Linked DNA regions of Homo sapiens: region 1 is linked to region 2. The links are contacts of gene promoters, found by promoter capture Hi-C in human tissues and cell types (Jung and others, 2019). All regions are on one chromosome and are shown on one strand. Each heading gives the region's core, a stretch centred on a gene start or on the middle of the fragment in contact. The rest is flanking DNA. Distances are from core to core; before and after follow the strand shown. Region 1 overlaps CSTF1 (cleavage stimulation factor subunit 1). Region 2 holds the start of ZBP1 (Z-DNA binding protein 1).

What was found. Contacts are between HindIII fragments. The study calls those that stand out against the background at their distance.
Region 1: a fragment that was not itself captured here is called in contact with the fragment with the promoter of ZBP1 in region 2 in 1 of the 25 tissues and cell types used here (spleen).

What each region holds. Positions count from the first base shown.
Region 1 is chr20:56,397,499-56,402,447 of GRCh38, reverse strand. CSTF1 (cleavage stimulation factor subunit 1) reads right to left here. Exons shown (of 6, transcript NM_001324.3): 4 at 4,607-4,804; 5 at 3,091-3,481. Among named protein-coding and RNA genes, the nearest start is that of CSTF1, 7.3 kb to the right of the region's middle. The HindIII fragment of the contact is 6,245 bases long and covers 1-4,920 here.
Region 2 is chr20:57,618,672-57,623,940 of GRCh38, reverse strand. It overlaps ZBP1 (Z-DNA binding protein 1), which reads left to right and starts at 3,515. Exons shown (of 8, transcript NM_030776.3): 1 at 3,515-3,679. The coding sequence starts at 3,646. RefSeq lists enhancers at 3,266-3,555, 3,686-3,735, 4,816-4,925, 5,103-5,269. The HindIII fragment of the contact is 12,502 bases long and covers 1-5,269 here.

The sequences.
Region 1 (4,949 bases), core at 549-3,048, 1.2 Mb after region 2:
AATAAAGTATAAAAAGGAAAATAAAAACTGCCTAATAATTGCACCCATCAGAGGTAACAGTCAATACTTTGGTGAATACTCTTTCGAAATATCTAAGTGTTATGTGCTCACTTGTAAATTCTCTCTTTTTTTTTTTTTTTTGAGATAGAGTCTTACTCTGTTGCCCAGGCTGGAGTGCAATGGTGTGATCTCGGCTCACTGCAACCTCTGCCTCCTGGGTTCAAGAGATTCTCCTGCCTCAGCCTCCTGAGTAGCTGGGATTACAGGCATGTGCCACCACACTCAACTAATTTTTGTATTTTTAGTAGAGATGGGGTTTCACCATGTTGGCCAGGCTGGTCTCAAACTCCTGACCTCAGATGATCTGCCCACCTTGGCCTCCCAAAGTGCTGGGATAATAGGTGTGAGCCACAGTCCCTGGCTTCATTTGTAACTTCTTTAAGTCAGAGCATTTGTCATATACTATTAATATTCAAGCATATGTAGTGCAGATCTGTAAAGACAGAATACAGCTTAGTGGATAAAAACACAAAGTCTGTGTGGTCAGATGTGGGTTCAACACTAATGTGACCCTGGGCAAATTACTTAACATTCCTCAGCCTTAATTTTCTCATCTGTTCCATGGAGTAGTTACAGAACCTACCCCATAAGGCTGTGAGGATTAAGAATAAGAGAATGCAAAGGAGGCTCTGGAGTGCGAGTGCTCAGCCCATGTTAGCATGCATACTTATTTTTAAAGGTGTATGTTGTCCATGGATGCGTAACAGATTTCCTCAGTGCTTCTTATTGGACATTTATGCTGTTTCTAACTTTCAGCCACTCCAAATGATGTTGGGACACACATCCTTTTATGGGCATGTGCATGTCTGTCCAATTACCTCTTTAGGTTGAATTTCTAAGAGTAGATATAGTGGGTCAAAAAGCGTGTATTTAAAATTTTGATATGACACCAAACTGTGCTGAAATATTTTACCAGCTGACTCTGACCAACAAAATATGATTTCCCGAAATCTCTATCAATAGTAGATAATATAAATCTTTAAGACTCCTGAAATCTGATTAACAAAACCAGGTCCCCATATTCATTTCTTGGGTCTGCAGCAAGGCTGGCCACCTTTTCTTACATTTCCTGACCATTTTTCTCTTCTGCAGCCCCCTGTCCTTTGGCTCCTTTTTTCTCGAGTTTGGACTCATCTTTTTCCCATATGAGTTCTCTTTATAGATTAAGGATGTTAACTCAATGTCTAACATCTGTATATATGCTATAACCATTTTCTCCCAGTCCTGTATGTTATTTATATTGTTTTTAATTTTTTGCATCCCAATTTCTAAAGTTTTGATAGTTTTTCCTTTTTCATCATTTCAAAAACCCTCTGAATTCTAACTAATTATTATTATTATCATTTTTTGAGACGGAGTCTTACTCTGTCGCCCAGGCTGGAGTACAGCAGCGCAATCTCGGCTCACTGCAACCTCCACCTCCCAGGTTCAAGCTATTCTCCTGCCTCAGCCTCCCAAGTAGCTGGGACTACAGGCGCCCGCCACCAAGCCCAGCTAATTTTTGTATTTTTCATAGAGACGGGGTTTCACCATATTGGCCAGGCTGGTCTCAAACTCCTGACCTTGTGATCTGCCCACCTCGGCCTCCCAAAGTGCTGGGATTACAGGTGTGAGCCACCGCGCCTGGCCCAAATTCTAACTAATTATTAAAACTGGGAACAGAAATCTTAACATGCTGACATGACAGGCGCTTGACCTGTGAAATGAGAAAAAAGGAAAAGGGGAATCTGTGCATAAATTCAGCATAATCACATTTTTGAAAAACCACACTGCTATTCCCCACTAAAACAAGCCAATCAACCTCATACTATTATAAAACACCCAAAACATTCCTAGAGCAAATATATAAGCTATTGTCAGTAGGCTGGTGTGTATCTGTCCAGATACAGCACACTCCTTAAAACAGTTATAACTTCTATAGGGGGAGTACTTTCACATTTACCCTGATCACTTTTTTATCTTCTTTTTGCAACAAACACAACTATTATAAAGTAGTTCTTTATAATAAATACTTTTCAGAACAACTTTATACAAGTGTTTCAATGAAGTCACCAAGAATTATGATAAAAATGGCTCTTCCTAAGATTTGCTAGTGGTACCAGAAGCCAGAAAGATGGCTGGGGAAGGGAACTTTGGTTACAATGAGACAAATCTAAGGCAAGTTATGCTGCCCCCTAGTGGGTCAGATGTCACTGACTCTTCAATGCAAACTTAAACACAATCCAGTCCCTTCCAATACTGTTTTCTTGTGATTTTTTTTGAGTTATGCTCATGCCAATTTTAGTGTATGATACAAACATATCTCACAATGGAAGAAACAATCAGAAATTTTCTGGAGGTTTTCTACCAAACAACAGTCTTTGCTGCTACAAGGAACAGAAGACAGTGTTTTAACATTCATTATCAAATAACCAGACTTGGGCCCTACTAGTGATAGGATAAATTTAAATGGATTTCATTATAAAAAGACTCCACAGGCACTACTGTTACCAATGAGACCAACATACATAAATGAGAATTCAGTGGATGCAATTTTTTTCTGTCTGCTGAGCCTACTTTATATCTGCATTCAGAATTAACGTGGTTTCCTTTGCGGGCTAGGTCTGCTCTCTTAGGAATGGGATAAGATCTTCCCTCTCAGCCATTCTTTCATGAATACATATATTAATAATACTGAGATCTACTATTGGAAACTTTTCTCTGGATTGCTTTCACATTTCTGTGGGAAGAGGGCATGCCAGTCTACAAATGGATCACCAGGTTCTCAAATGTTACTTGCATGGAATCCAGCCCTAGTCCACGGTGTGAGGTGCTCAGAAGAGCAAAGAAAGCACCGTTCTATTTCCAAGTCGTGTAGCCTTGGCTAAATGACTTAACCTGTAAGTCTTGGTTTCCTCTTATCTAAGAAAGGGTAACATCTGCCTTGCTCAATGCATAGATATTGTGTTGCTCTATTGTGAGGTCTTAAAAGAGAGTTCTGGAAAGTGTAAACACTACAGAAATGTTAAGTAACATCAACGTCTCACATACCCGTGTATCTGACCAGTGTTCGTCCCGTTGATATTTCCCAAAGTTTAGCTACAGAGTCTTTTCCACTTGAGAGAATGTATTTAGAATTTTTGGAAAAAATGGCAGAACAAACTTCAGCACCGTCATGTGCTTTCTCAAAAGTTGTGATGCATCGATTTGAAACACCATCCCATAATTTGATGCAGCCGTCCTTGCTTCCAGTTACGTACATATTGGCACTAGAATTGTAATTAACGGAACATATAGCATCGGTGTGTTGATCTTGAGGATTGCAAGAGACAAAACATTGAAAGGTGTTGATATCATAAAGGCGAAGAGTAGGATGCTGAGTTCCGACAAGTATAAAGTCTCCAGAAGGATGAAAAGAGATGGAACGTAACATTTCAGCTTCCTGTTGGGACAGAGACATTAATACAAGTGACCAACTGGTGAACAATTAAATCCAGAGGAAATGTGGAAAATATCTGGCTGATGAAAAGAATCTATAAAACAATTATTAGATATTACACAGGTATCATAAGAAAAAAAGTGCTTTCTGGAACATATGAAAGTATTTTTTGAATAGATTTCCAAAACTAAATATTTACTGGTTATATTATTCCAAAAACTACAGAAGTGAGCTTCATTATTTACAAATGAACACTGAGTAAACTAAGGATGGAGTATTATCAGACAATGACACATTCATGCATGGTTAACTGAAGTACAACTTGTACCTAAGAGCTTCTTTAATTTGCTCTAGGGCTGCAAATATTGAGTGAAAAATTAAGTTTATTATTATTTTTTTCAGACAGGGTCTTGCTCTGTCGCCCAGGCTGGAGTGCAGCGGCATGGTCACAGCTCACTGCAGGCTCAACCTCTTGGGCTCAAATGATCATCCTTGCCTCCGCCTCCTGAGTAGCTGGGACTATCGGCGCGTGCCACCATGCCCAGCTGATTAAAAGAATTTTTTGTAGAGATGAGGTCTCACTACATTGCTCAGGCTGACCATAAACTTCTGGGCTCAAGTGATCCTCCCACTTTGGCTTCTCAAAGTGCTGGGATTACAGACATGAGCCACTGCAACCAGCCTAGTTTAATTATCAAACAGACAGAAGCCACAACTAAAACATTAGTATTTCTGCAATGCATATTCAAAATAGGGTACCGAATGTCACCTTGCCAGGAAATACTTAATACTTTCAAATGAACTTTTTTTTTATTCCTCTAAGTTATATATTAGTGAAGCTGGTCGTGTTTTGTTTATAACAGGGATCTACAACCTTTAGAGAGTGATATGGATTCCAAACCCTCCAAAGGGTCAGATTATAAACTCTGACCAGCCAGAGGGAGCAGGTACATGATAGCATGTGATCTATGTGCCAACAAAATCTGATCCATGTGCCATCGGGCATGCATCCTGGTCTGTACGCATCTTACAGGATGATCACTGAGACTACTTTTAAAAAGAGAATAGTTGTACAATAGCTCATTGTATTTAAGAAAAAATGTAAAGCTCCTTTCTAAAGATTCCTACCTGAATGTATTTGAAGGCTCTTTTTGCTGATGGTTTGGAATAATCAAATAATTTAAGAGTATAATCCCTTGAACCAGAAGCCAGGATCTGTTCTGTTGGGTGGAAAGCAAGGCACGTGACTTCATCCACATGGTCATAAAGAGTTCGAATCACTGGGTGGTTTTCCATATTTTGTTGTGCGGTCTCATTCATCATGACCTAGACCAACAAGAAGAGATGCTCAAGGCACAGAATGTGTCTGAATCCAAGTGCACAATCCACAACTGTAGCAAACTAAAGCTGGTTTCAACCATACTCTCATTTTTCCAAAAATGAAAAACAGAAGGCAATCAATAAGTATGTG
Region 2 (5,269 bases), core at 2,266-4,765:
TAGCAGCCATTCTAAAATGTAAGGCAAACTTGAGAATGAAGGCCACAAATGGCAGACCGACAATGTAGAAGGACCCCAGGTCACCACACTAAACCTGGAATGCCTACAACTCTTTCAAGAAAAAGACACAACTCTATTGTTTTAGCCACTGGTATTTAGGCTTAAAGATAATCCTTAGGGTCAAACTCAACTTAAACAGCTCTTAAATAGAGAAGAGAAATAAAGGCAATCTAAGTATTTAAAAGTAAGACTCCCACTCAGTGGGTGACAAGCACATAGCAGATTCCTGGCTTCATCTCCAGATGTGCCATGGAATGCAAAGAAAGGTGGAACCTACCCACGTGAAATGTTTTCTTCTTTTTGTCTATTGCTCTCTTTTGTTTGTTTGCTGTCTAAAGAGATACTGTGGAGATGCATCATGTTTTCTAACTTATGCAAATGTTGTGAGCACATACTAAGTGTCAAAAATGCTTTTTCTTAGTATCTCTGCTTTATAGTTAAAGAAACCGCGGCTCAGAGAGGTAGCGCCACACAGCTGGGAAGGAGAACCTGCCCTGGAGAAGAGACAAGACAGAATCCTTGTCCAGGGAACTTCCCGAGGCGCTTGGTCTCCACTGGCATGGTGGTCCCTGCTACAGACTCCTAAAAATGGCTCAGGCCCAGAGGGGCTCCATGTGCCTTCAGGATGTGGCCACGGGGACAGAAAGGGGTCATCCAAGCACAGTCTGGATGGAGACCAGCCGTGAGGGGCACCAGCCTCCTCCCTGCAGCAGAAGCCATCTTCCTAGAAGTAAGGCTGGCACCCAAGACCAAGCTAACATCCCTCAACCTGACCTGCAAGCCCACCAGGGACCTGGGGTCAAGGCCTGAGCTGCAGAGGCCAGGGAAGGAAGGGGAGAAGCTAGCATGGGCCCTGGAGATGGGGGGAGAGAGAGTTTCCCCACGGGGGAGTGGTGGGCTGTGTCAAGACCAACACTGGGAGGCCAGGCCGGAAGAGCACAAAGAACTGCCTGGAGGCTTCACAGAGAAACAGCTGGAATCTGACTCCTTCCAGGAAAGATGAGTGAAGAAACCACGATGAGTGACTGAAGAGACAGGAAGAATAAAGGATGATGCAGGACAAGGCAGTGGGAGGGGTGGGCACGTCTTGGAGCTGTGATTCATCAAGTCTGGAGTCCAACCATGGGTTGGGGTAGGAGCTCCTCCCTGCAGATCAGAGGGAACTTGAAGCCAAGGTGCGCCCAAGCCCAGGTTGGTGAGCGGCATCACCTGGTGGCCAGTTCGGGCGTGGCACCCCAGACACCCAAGGGACTCAGCCTTGCAGGGCTCAGCCGGAGCCCCTTCCGGAGGGCACCTTCATCATCTCCCTCAGCACCCCACCTACCCCCCCATTTAAAGAGCACTATTGTTATTTCATAGGGTGATACCTGCAGTTTTCGCTTTTACATAAAAGGAGAATAAAAGCATCCTGCAGTTTGCTGTTATTGACTTGCCCCAGACTTACTGGTTCTCCACCTGGAAGCAGGAAAAGTCACCCAGGAGCATAAAAAATCTCACCCTCGGGCCCCAGCCGCAGAGGTTGGAGTTGACTAGTCTGGGCCGGCCTGGGCATTGAGACTTTTTTTTTGCTTCAAACACTTAACATGCAGGCAGGGCGGAAGACCTGGGCTCCAGGTGCTCGCTCTGCAAAGACAGATAGCTTCAGGATAAACCTCCGGACCCCCTTTCCATTTGTATTTGCCGCTAAGCTGCTCCTTATGCATAAATGGGGTCTGCAAGGAGCACAGACGTCTCTAGCCCTCCCAGCCCTCTGCAGATGAGACACAGACCCCAAGTCCAGGGACTTCCAGGGCTGAGCTCTCAACCCCCTTGGCTGCCAAAAGCTGGGGGGCCTTGTACACAGCATTCACCTCTGTGGGCCTCAGTTCCTCCTTCTGTGATCTGGAAGAGAACAGTGGCTCTGAGTTTTTCTGAGGTCACTGGCCCTTTTGAGAATTATGTAAGCAACGGGTCCTCTCCCAGAAGCATTCCTGTGAGGTGACCACGGTGCCCGTGACTACGGATGGCTCTGGGGCTCTAGCCCGACAGCTGGGCTGTATCAGCCCCTTAGGTCCTCACCTCGACCCCATGCGCTAGGTCCTTTGATTAAGTCCTTTTACACATGGGGAAACTGAGGCACAGAGGGGTTAAATAATTTGTCCGAGGTCACACAGCCGGTAAATGGCGGAGCCAGGTTTGGACCCAAGCATGCTGACCCAGGCTTGCATTCCGAACCACTCGGCTGCTGACCCCAGGCATCTGACTCTGGAATTAATAAGCAAGTTTTATGATGAGGCGGGGAACTCCACGCCATCTGTGCACTAAGGGTGATTCACCAGTGACTTCTGGGTGTTATAGATCAGGAAACACAATTGGGGAATGGACAGGACAAGCTCTGTCATGGACTCTGTGTGGCCTTGGACAAGTGATCTTGCCTTTCTAGCCTCAGTTTCCCCCCTGAGAAGAAGACAGAACTGGCCCCTACCCTGTAGATGGGTTGGAGGAGCACTTGAGATTGGAAAACGCATAATAGGTGTTCATTAAAGAGGCTCACATGGATACACACAAGAACAATCTCAGGGCCTTCACGCACCTAAATGTTCTGCCCCTAGTGTGGGCAAGGGAAACAAACTGGAAGAAGACAAGAAAAGCCACTGAGAGCTGGGGACGGTGCCTCTGTAGCACCTGTGAGTCCCCGAGGAGGAAGTACTACAGGAACCAGCGGGGCCGGGCGTGGGGGCTTGCGGCTGGAATCCCAGCACTGTGGGAGGCCAAGGCAGGCAGATCGCTTGAGCCCAGGAGTTTGAGACCAGCCTGGGCAACACGATGAAACCCCATCTCTACAGAAAATACAAAAATTAGCCGGGCATGGTGGTCTAGGCCTGTGGTCCCAGCTACTAGGGAGGCTGAGAGGTGGGAGGATCGCTGGAGTCCGGAAGGTCGAGGCTGCCGTGAGCCGTGATCACGCCACTGCACTCCAGCCTGGATGACAGAAACCCTGTCTCAAAAACAAACAAAAACACAGAAACCAGATAACCAGCCCCAGCCCCTCACATCATCAGAGTGATGCCACGCCCTGGCATCCCCCTCCACGTGGTGCATGCTCTTTTTTTTATTTTTATTTTCTTCAGTTCTCTGATGCTGATTCAGAAAATAAAAATGTAGAGGTCCAGGTGGGCTGTGCCTGGAACGGGGAAGGTGAGGGAAGTCCTCTGTCTCAAAGGCCTCTTCGGAGGACGCTCTGGTCTTGCCAAGTTTACAGCTCCTCCCTGTCAACATCAAGTCAGGTCCCCAACTCTGTCTTGCTCATCCACCTGGCTTCCACTTTTTTTTTCTTTCAAAAGACGAACAGAGAAGTTTCATTTTCTTTTTCTCCTGAAACCGAATCTGGCCGGCCTGGCTAGGCATCTATTTCCGGGCTGTAAGCAGCTGACACCTGCCCAGTGGAAGCTGGCATCCCTCCCCTTGTGGGTTCAGAGCTGCAAGAAGCACCAGGCTCGGCCACTTCAGAAGCCCCAGCCTCGACCTAGCCCACCCTCTCAGGGCCACAGTGCAGAAGCCTGCACACCTGCCAAGTCTCTCCGACTCCTTGCAGCTGCTGTCAGCATGGCCCAGGCTCCTGCTGACCCGGGCAGAGAAGGTACAGTACTTCTTCCTTCCAAGGACCAGCGGTAGCTCCCGGGGTGAGATTTCTACTTCTCTTTCCTCCTGTTTCGCTTGGTCCAGATCATGATGACAATAGCAGTATCCTAAAGAATAGTAGACCAGCTGGGCGTGGTGGCTCACGCCTGTAATCCCAGCACTTTGGGAGGCGAGGTAGGTGGACTGTTTAAGCTCAGGAGTTTGACACTAGCCTGGCCAACATGGCGAAACCCCATCTCTACTAAAATTACAAAAATTAACCGGGCATGGTGGCGCATGCCTGTGATCCCAGCTACTCGGGATGCTGAGGCTGGAGAATCGCTTGAACCCGGGAGGTGGAAGTTGTAGTGAGCTGAGATGTCGCCATTGCACTCCAGACTGGGTGACAGAGTGAGATTCCATCTCAGAAAAAAAAAAAAAAAATAGAAAGGGACAGCATAGCCATCCCCCTTTGACAGCTGACTGTGCCCCAGGCACCTCGAAACATGCTTTCCAAGCATTTCCTGATGGCCTGCAGGGACAAGTGCCATGTCATTCCCATTTTATAGATAACTGAGGCCCTGAGAGGTGAAATGACACTCTCAGGGTAACACAGCTGGCGAACGCTGGTGTTAGCGTCTGAACACCCATGTCACAGTCATATCGAGAACAAAGCGGTTTGCTTTGATGAGATACATGTGTGCCTTTGTTCCCCCTTGTTGCATCCTTTCCTCAACTAACATTTCATTCATTTTATTCCTGGAAGAGTTGCAATGAAAGCCAATAGTGTATCGAGTAATTGCTGTTCTCTAGGGTCTCCACTAAGCGCTGTGGACTGTAGGTGAAGTGTGGTTTTGCGGTTTGGGGGATGTGTTTGTTTTGTTTTTAATCCTCACCACAATCTTTGAAGTAGTTATTACTGTCTCCATTTCACAGAAGAGGAACCTGAAGCCGGAGGGGAGGTCACACAGCTAGTAGTTGGCAGGGCTAGGAGCTCAAACCCAGGAAATCAGCCATCAGAATTTTAAAAAACCAACACAGAGTGTGCCCCGGGAGGGCTAATGTCAGGGTGTGGCCCAGGAGCCGGGCTGACCGCGGAGGTCCTGTGGAGCTTCCTCTTCGGGGACTCACGGGTGCTGACGCAGGTTCCGGACTCAGCCCTCGCTGGCTTTTCTTGTCTTCCTCCCCAGTTGATTTTCCTTTTGTGACCAAATTGTTGCCTACACCTGCTCCATTTTACAATTTCCCATTTTCAGACACAGTAGCCTGGGACTCAGCAGTCGAGGCCAGCCCAGGGCCAGTGCTTGTCCTGCATCCACACCTCTGACCCCCATCTCCTCTGGGGTGTGTGGAGCCGAGGCAGTGGCTCCCTAAGGTCAGCCTTCCAGAATCAAAACTGCGGCCAGGCGCAGTGGCTCACGCCTGCAATCCCAGCACTTTGGGAGGCTGAGTTGCGGGGATCACCCAAGGTCAGGAGTTTGACACCAGCCTGGCCAAAAAGGGAAACCCTGTCTCTACTAAAAATACAAAAATCAGCCGGGTGTAGTGGTGCGTGCCTGTAATCTCAGCTACTTGAGAGACTGAGGCAAGAGAATTGCTTGAACCCAGG